Linked DNA regions of Homo sapiens: all the other regions are linked to region 3. Evidence: promoter capture Hi-C in 16 types of primary human blood cells and fetal thymus (Javierre and others, 2016). All regions are on one chromosome and are shown on one strand. Each heading gives the region's core, a stretch centred on a gene start or on the middle of the fragment in contact. The rest is flanking DNA. Distances are from core to core; before and after follow the strand shown.

Evidence for each region. Contacts are between HindIII fragments. The CHiCAGO score rates a contact against its expected background, and 5 or more counts as called.
Region 1: a contact is called between a fragment that was not itself captured here and the fragment with the promoter of PDE7B-AS1 in region 3, in 1 of 17 cell types (total B cells). The highest score is 5.3, in total B cells.
Region 2: a fragment that was not itself captured here is called in contact with the fragment with the promoter of PDE7B-AS1 in region 3 in 4 of 17 cell types (total B cells, naive B cells, naive CD4 T cells and 1 more); the score reaches 6.6 in total B cells.

What each region holds. Positions count from the first base shown.
Region 1 is chr6:135,585,942-135,588,683 of GRCh38, reverse strand. All of the region lies in intron 2 of AHI1-DT (AHI1 divergent transcript), which reads right to left. Among named protein-coding and RNA genes, the nearest start is that of LINC02524, 47 kb to the left of the region's middle. The HindIII fragment of the contact is 1,106 bases long and covers 842-1,947 here.
Region 2 is chr6:135,697,878-135,700,838 of GRCh38, reverse strand. The region is part of intron 5 of AHI1-DT (AHI1 divergent transcript); the gene reads right to left. Among named protein-coding and RNA genes, the nearest start is that of LINC02524, 65 kb to the right of the region's middle. The HindIII fragment of the contact is 645 bases long and covers 1,084-1,728 here.
Region 3 is chr6:136,071,378-136,074,362 of GRCh38, reverse strand. PDE7B-AS1 (PDE7B antisense RNA 1) reads left to right here and starts at 1,536. Exons shown (of 4, transcript NR_149042.1): 1 at 1,536-1,814. All of the region lies in intron 2 of PDE7B (phosphodiesterase 7B), which reads right to left. The HindIII fragment of the contact is 8,353 bases long and covers 1-1,795 here.

The DNA of each region.
Region 1 (2,742 bases), core at 145-2,644, 490 kb after region 3:
TTTGAGTTAATGTTGGAATGAGTTAAGGACTTGGAATGAGTTAATGTTGGAATGAGTTAAGACTTTAAGGGACTGTTGGGAAGGCATGATTGTATTTTGCAATGTAAGAATCACATGAGATTTGGGAGGTGCAGGGCAGGATATAGTTCAGATATTTGTGCCCAACCAAATCTCATGTTAAATTGTAATCCCCAGTGCTGGAGGTGGGGCGTGGTAGAAGGTGTTTCGATCATGGGGGCAGATCCCTCATGGTTCGGTGCTGTCTTTGTAATAGTGAGTTATCATGGAATCTGGTTATTTTAGAGTGTGTGGCACCTCCCCTGGCCCACTCTCTCTCACTTGCTCCTGCTTTTGCCATGTGATGTGCCTGCTCCCCCTTCACCTTCTGCCATGATTGGAAGCTTCCTGAGGCCTCCCTAGAAGCTGAGCAAATGCCAGCATCATTCTTCCTGCAAAGCCCGCATAACTGGGAGCCAATTAAACCTCTTTTCTTCATAAATTACCCAGTCTCAGGTATTTCTTTATAGCAATGAAAGAACAGGCTAATCAAGCATCAACATCACTTGTGAGTTTGTTATAAACGCAGACTCTCAGGTCCTACCCCAGAAGTCCTAAATCAAAATCTGCATTTTAACAAACTCCCTAGATGATTCACAAGCACACTAAGGTTTGGAAGCCCCATTCCAGGAGATTCTAATGTGCAGCCAGGGTTGAGGGTCATCACAATAAGCAATACATCTTCCCATTCTATAATTTAATAACAGAAATTATTGATTCTATGTAAGTTTGTTTTGCTTTAAAAACAATTTTTTTTTATTTTACTATTATTATACTTTAAGCTTTAGGGTACATGTGCACAATGTGCAGGTTAGTTACATATTAAAAACAAATATTTTGCAGTAAAAGAGAACAAGAAAGATTCACCTTGCTCCTTAAGATAGAATTTTCCATAAAGAGATAAAGGGAGAAAGAAGTAGTTCCATAAAGTGGAATATCTCTCACTAAAATCTTAATTTCTTTCAGAATATTAAAAGATTTTGAGATTGGGAACAACTAATTTACTACATTCATTAGAATATTCCTTCAATTAACCTTATCAGGAGATATTTCTAAATGTTCTTGAATTACTAACAGATTTACAACTTAGATCACTTATCTCTGCTGTTTTAAGGTTTCAATTATCTTTCTCTTTTTCCACCAGTTACAACGAATTAAAGACATACAGTGTATTATATTATCCTTTCTGGCATCAAAAATAACACAAAATATTCTCAGGCTTTAGGAAAAGTACAGCTTAAAAAAATACTTCTAAAAGAAATAAAAGCAGCAGGTACAATTGAAGAATATTTTATATATTGGTTGTTTTCTCCATAAGCTCAAGAGTATTAATGAATGATGGATCGTTAAGCTAATGAGTTCTAATTTTTGTTTGTTTAGTTGGTTGGTTTTTGTTGTTGATCATTGAAGGGCAAAGTAAACTTGCAAGGTTACTTTGCTAAGCACCGGTATTTTAGGGGAGTTTTACCTAGTTCTATATCTGCAAAGATAAGCTGACCTATAACCTTTTGCATGATATGTAATTCTCCAGGACCTGTAAGAAAACCACAGAAACAACCACATTTACGCACATCAGCACCATAGCAAAACCACATGAGCTACAAGGTGGAAATAACAGCTTGGGCCAGTGCCACTGGAATGCACTTGTGATACAAACATCCAGAAGAGTGACCCTCCAATTAAAGCCCCATGAACAGCAAACAGCGTTTAACCTGTGTGTTATGCAGTGTGTTTTCTCAGTAACAAGTGCGAACAAGAAGCTGGTTTCCATGTCATCTCTTTTGTATTCTTTCTCCTCCAGGATTTCAATATAGGATTAACTATCAACTCAGCTGATAATTATCAGAATTAACCTATTAACTATCAAACTGGCCACAGCCGTACTAAGCTTCTCCAGGTCACTCACAGACTAGTCTCCTGTTTACTATGCAAGAAAGTCAATTCTGTTGCTTCTGCCATCTTTATGAGTAGTTAATAAAACCAGTCTTACCAAACAAACCAGTCTTACCATTTGTCTTGTGAGGTTGGTCTTGGAGCCTCACCAACAGAAGGGGGAATGCCAGGATATCTTTTGATTATTTTGTCTAGATAAAGCAATCTGTGATTCGTGCATTCTCTGCCTTGAACAGCCTGGTTCTAGGTTGTTGACTGCAGCTCTGTCAGTTCCCTGTATCTGGGATGCTCTTTCACTGATTTTACAGCAGTGGTCCCTGCTTGCCATTCCAGTCTTCTTGGATTACTCACTCCAAAGGAGCCCCCAAGTCCCTCCCTATCATCAGACTCTGCCTTATTGTCATCAGAGCACTCATCACTATCTAACATATTCCTCTTACATTTTGAATACTGTCTCTCTTTCCTCATGAGAATATTCACTCCACAAGAACAGTGATCTTTTTTGTCTTGTTACCAACTATATTCCCAGAATCAGAATAGAGTTTGGCTCATTTAAGGCTTTCGATAAATATTTACTGAATAAAAGAATGATCCATGATAGCCAAAGGAATCAAATGTTATGAATATCTAATAATCTGATGTGTCAAATATCAATATTAGTGTGCAATGAAAAACATGGGGTCAGGCAGAATAATTTGTTTAAAATTAAAACCAGAACATTTGTAAATTATATCATATTAGCTCTAGATTAGAACAGGTTTATTTATCTTGTGTTGCTCCTTGTCATTTATT
Region 2 (2,961 bases), core at 157-2,656, 370 kb after region 3:
TAATGGCAAACACTGTTTCTTCCTCTTTTATCCACTGTTTAAAAATCAGTGCAGGCTGGCATGGTGGCTCATGCCTGTAAACCTAGCACTTTGAGAGGCTGAGGCATGTGGATCACTTGAGGTCAGGAATTCGAGACCAACCTGTCCAACAGGGCCAAACCCCATCTCTACTAAAAATACAAAAATTAGTTGGGCATGTGCCCATAGTCCCATCTACTCAGGAGGCTGAGGCATGAGAATTGCTTGAACCTGGGAGGCAGAGGTTGCAGTGAGCCGAAATCATACCACTACACTCCAGCCTGGGCAACAGGGTGAGACTCTGGCTCAAAAAAAATAAATAAATAATTTTAAAAAGTGAGAATCAGTGCATTCAAGGACTGGACCCTCTCCCCTAGCTTTGGAAAGTCTTTCTGACCAATCCCACCTCTTTGCATAATTCCAGCTATTACCTATGTGCCATCAGTGACCCCCCCAAACCCTGATTCCAATTTTATAAGCCCTAAAGACATGCCCCAAATGAAACTTGGCATCCTCACTCATAAACTGCCACACCCCTATTTTTCACACTTTGGCTGATAGCATTGCTATACAATCAGTCACTGAAGCTAAAAACTTTAGTAGTTCTTGACTATTTCCTGTCCTTATAATATCCAATCAGTCACCAAACCTAACCCATTCCACTTCCTAAATGTCCCATTTATTCACTTAAAAATATAACAGATATTTACGGAGCACGCACTGCATGTCCAAAATGTTGCCCTGGTTGTTCTATCTGCCCTTTGCTGTATCCCCACCGTCCCTGCCCAAATCAAGGCCTTTCCCACCACTTCCTCCAATTGGTAAAATACCATCCTAGCTTGTGTGCAAGTTTCCAGTTTCCTGACCCACCCCATGCATATTTTCCACTATCAAAAGGATCATGTTCCTAAAATACAAGTCTAATATTATAACTATTGGCTTTAAAGCATCCTGTCTCCCTTGGAGCCCATAAGATTACATCTTAGAACAACACTCAAAGTCCATTACATTTTGGTTCCACCTTTCTTTCCTGGCTGTCTGCCTCCACCCGCCTATGTTCAAGCTTCTTTAAAAGGTCACTAATCTTCAAACACACCACCCACCCACCTGCTTATTATTTTTTTTAATGTGGTCATCTCTGGTAGCAATTTCTTCTCATCTTCTTTTTGCCTCAGAATTTAAGGCAACTTCAAATATTAGCTTCACTGTAAAGGCTTCTCGGATGCTCCCAGGAAGACTGGGTCACTCTTTTCATTATGCTTTCAGAATGAATTGGGTATCACTATATCATTTATTACTGAGGGACTGAATATACAAACTGACATGAACTAATCCATGTATAAAAATAGAACTTTGACCATCAACCTCCAGAATCTTGTCCAGAAAGCCAATCTGTTAACTTCAATAAATAGTCCAGGAAGCCAGCCTGCTATAAGTCAGGCTGCTATCTGTAGAAACAATATAGGAAGCTAAGCAAAAACTTCTGTAACAATCGGCTCAAAATGGCCAGGACTTGATTCATAACTGACAGCTTTCCCAATATCTGTCCCCACTCCAAACTTAGGACAAACCAGAGAAAGCCAAATATGCACCCCTAAGCAATCACAGAGGATGTTCTGCTTCTGGTTAGCCTACCTCCAACTTCCCCAAGACAACAGCCTCCAGTCAGGGTATGATTGAAGCCTTCCCTTTATTTCTCACTATGAAGCTTCCCACTCCTCTGCTTGCCTTTGATTCTCTCCCAAAACACAAGTGACAGTGGCAGACTCCCCTTGCTATAGCAAACACTGAATAAATAATCCTTGCTTTTCTTCTTTAGTTGGTTTTGGTTTCTTTCCACTGTCTTTAACCAGGACCTGCCACATAAAATTGGTTAATGAATGATGTGTTTTTGTTATTGTTATAGTGGCTTTTGTTGGATGGCTACTTACTGCTACCACAGGATGCTTTTCCCAACAATCCAACTTTGTCATTATAAATTTGTTACTAATATTCCCTTATTATCTGGGTAAAATCTATAGGATAGTTAATGATGTCCCCTCTTTAATTCTTGACTGATAATTTTTTGTCTTCCCTTTTTTTCCTGTATCAGTTTTGCTAGATATTTACCAATATTACTGATGTTGTCAAAAACCCAGCTTGGGGTTTCATAAATTTTCTCAGTTTGTCTTGGGTTTTCTATTTTTGTTATCATTTTTATTCTCTTCCTTCTGCTTACTTTGGTTTAACTTTTCTTCTCTTTTCCAGCCTCTTGTGGTGGGAATTTAGACTCTAATAAATTTAGATCATTGATTGTTGATACTACTTCTTTTCTAATATAAGTATTTAGTTAGATGGTTTTGAGACTTGCTTTTAAGTTGTGCTTGGGCAGGGCTAGAGAAACCTTTCCTCTAGGAATGGGTTAGCCCACTACTGCAGAGTAGTCCTTCTGGATGGAGTCTTTACTGCATTCTCCAAGTAAAGAGGCTCAATGAGGGCTCTCCATGCTATCTGGTGGTAATGCAAATGATTCCGCAGTCTGTGTGTATTGTGGAAATACGCTCCTCTCATAACTCCACAGTTGTTCTTTGCCCAGCCTTGTAGCATTTCACGCTGTGCATTGTCTTGATATTTTTCAGACTCATGGGACCCACTGTGTATATTTCTCAAGCCCGTTTTCTGTGTAGCTCCCTACTCTGTAGATCTCTGCCTCACCATTTACAGACACCAGACTTCCTAAACTTCAAGTTCTGCCTCCTCAATTATATAAGACAACTTTTCCTTGCTTGGAATCTCCCTCTCTGCTCTGCAGTCTAAAATGTGCCTCCAGGCGAAAATCCTAGGCAATTGCAGTGCAGGGCTCACCTCACTTACTTCTCTTCCCCCGAGATTCACAGTCCTTCTTGTGCTGCCTATTGTCCAATGTCTGAGGAGAAGTCTTCTTCATGTAATGTTAGAGTTGAT
Region 3 (2,985 bases), core at 287-2,786:
TTGTATGCCTGTATCAAAATATCTCATGTACCCATAAATATATACCCTTACTATGTGCCCACAAAAATTAAAAATTAAAAAACCCTTAAACAACAAAAAAACCCCAAATCCCCCCCGCCTTTTTTTTTTTTTGAGACAAGGTCTCTCTGTCACCCAGGATAGAGTGCAGTGGTGCGATCTTGGCTCACTGCAACATCCACCTCCTGGGTTCAAATGATTCTTTTACCTCAGGTAATTCTTTTACCCAAGTAGCTGGGATTACAGGTGTGTGCCACCGTGCCCAGTTCATTTTTTTGTATTTTTAGTACAGACAGGGTTTCACCATGTTGGCCAGGCTGGCCAAATTCCTTTTTGTCATAGGAACGAGATAGGCATAAATTCTCCACGAAGGAATTATTTCTATTGGAAAGAATATGGGAACTAAATTTTTTTATTTGCTTCAGATATGGGACTTTTGGTGAAATTTCAGTTTTCTGCGCATTGTACTTTCACAACAAGTTTTTAGAAATCACGCTGAAATTCTCAACTGAGAGATACGTATCATGATCAACCTTTGCCACTTATACTCTGATACATGTGGTGGTGTATTTCCAGATTTTTACTATGTGTGGCTGTAAAAATGCTGTTATGGGCTAGAGTGTGTCCCCTGCCAAATTCGTATGTTAAAATCCTAACCCAAGCACCTCAGAATGTGACCTATATGGAGATGGGGTCTTTTAAAAGGCAGTTAAGTTAGATGAGGCCACTGGAGTAGGCCCTAATCCATTATGACTAGTGCACTTGTATGAAGAGAAAATTAGGACACAGGCCCAGAGGGAAGACCATAGAAGTGACATCTACAAGCCGAGGGGAGAGGCCTCAGAAGAAACCAACTCCACAGATGCCTTGATCCTGGACTTTCAGCCTGTAAGACTGTGAGAAAATCAGTTTCTGTTGTTTAAGCCATTGAGTTTATGGTGCTGTGTTATGACAGCCTTAGCTGATTAAGACATATGCCCGTAATTTTATGACTCAGTAAAGAAAATATTCACTTTTACTTAATTAACCCAATCATGTTCTTTACACACAAAGAAGGAGTCTTTCAGATCTGTTACCCCAGGACCTGTCACAATGCATGGCGTACGGAGGCACTCTGTGCACACGTTGAGTTTATGGACTGTCCCTGAATGTCATTCAGATGGAGGACTTTGCTTGTGGCCCTAGTTGTGTGATATGAACAGACTTCAGCATGGCCATCCCTGCCGACGCCACCATCTCAGATATTCCATCAATGCTCCTTAGCCCCGAGAGCAGGCCAAAAAGACAAAGAACATGGTCTCCAAGCGGCCCAGCCCCAAGCAACACAACTCCCTGGGGTTTCTCCAAAAAGAGAAGGGTGCGTTGAGTGGCTCTTAGCTGTTCCTACCAGGATATACAGGTGAGCCAAGAAAAACCACATGGCTAGCTTTATCAGGAGCTGCTGACAGGCCTGAAAGATCCAAAACGGACACCTGACCCATGTGACTGTTGTCAGAACACTATCCACCATGGCAACCAGGCCAGTTTCCATCGCACATGTGTCCCGCAGCTCCACCGAAAAGGATCAAGAAAGTCAGGATTCTAAATACCAACAGCATCACTCTGTCAAAACCACCCTTGCAACCTTTCTCAGAAAAGGAAATGTAATGACAAGATGAAAGTTAGCCAGAACGGCCATGTCCAGAAAAGCTCTCAGTAGTACAGCCATCTGTCCGAAATACTCTAACCTACAAGGTGGCCACGGTCTCTTCAGAGGGTCATGGAGCTCTGCAAAGCTTGTCTTAAAACTGATTAAGGTAAAATAGTTATTAGAAGACATCTTTTTCTTTCTTAAGATCAATAGAAAAATAAACAGGGCTGGGCAAGGTGGCTTACACCCAGAATCCCAGCACTTTAGTAGGCCAGGGCAGGAGGATCGCTTGAGCCCAGGAGTTCAAGAGCAGCCTGGGCAACACAGCAAGAACTCATCTCTACTTAAAAAACAAAATTAAAGTATCAGCTATGCCATGAGCTATCTAACCAGGTGCCCCTCTCCCACCATTTCCTCTCCCTGTACCCTGTTTAGGTCCTTCACAGAACTTAGGACAATTTCGATTTGTCTTTCTCTCTCCTCGCCTCCCCGCCTATTTATTTTCTGTTTTCCCCATTAAGGGCAGGAACTGTGTTTATTGTATTTGCCATTATATATTCAAGACAAATTATGATGCCTGCTACATAATAAATGCTCAATAAATATTTGTAGAATGACTGACTGAATGAAAAAAATGTTAAAGGGGACTGAGGGAAGAAGCTAAAATATATTTAGTTTTTGTGCTGTGTACCTTTTAAGGCACTGTTGTAGGGTCACCTCATTTAATTCTTAAAACATAATAGATGCTTAATAAATATTTTTAGAATGACTAACTGAAGGAAAAAAATGTTAATGGAAACCAAGGAAAAAAGCTAAAATACATTTACTTGTTACTGCACTGTGTACCTTGTTAGGCATTGTTATATGATCATGTCATTTAATCCTTAAAACATTAGAATGCTGCACTCATTTATTAATTTATTGAGTGGAATCTTGCTCAGTTGCCCAGGCTGGAGTGCAGTGGTGTGATCATAGCTCAGTGAAGCCTCGAACTTTTGGCCTCAAGCGATCCTCCCACCTTAGCCTCCCTAGTAGCTGGGACTACAGGCATGCACCACTACACTTGGCTAGAGTGATATAATTTTAACATAATTTTTCCAGTAAGAAAACTGACATCCAGAGAAGTTTATAATTTCTTGGTGTTTCTGTAATGGTGAAATGAACTATCTCTCTGTTGCCTTTCTAGCACTTTGAAAATAAAATTCTCAATACTTCAGAATTAAACTTATGTATACACACGTGTGTGTGTGTTTCCAGTTTACTTTTCCTCTTGTCCAACCTTTCTGATATGTTAGTGATTCTGAACTTTGTGCAATGCTGAGGTGAAGGCTGAGGTT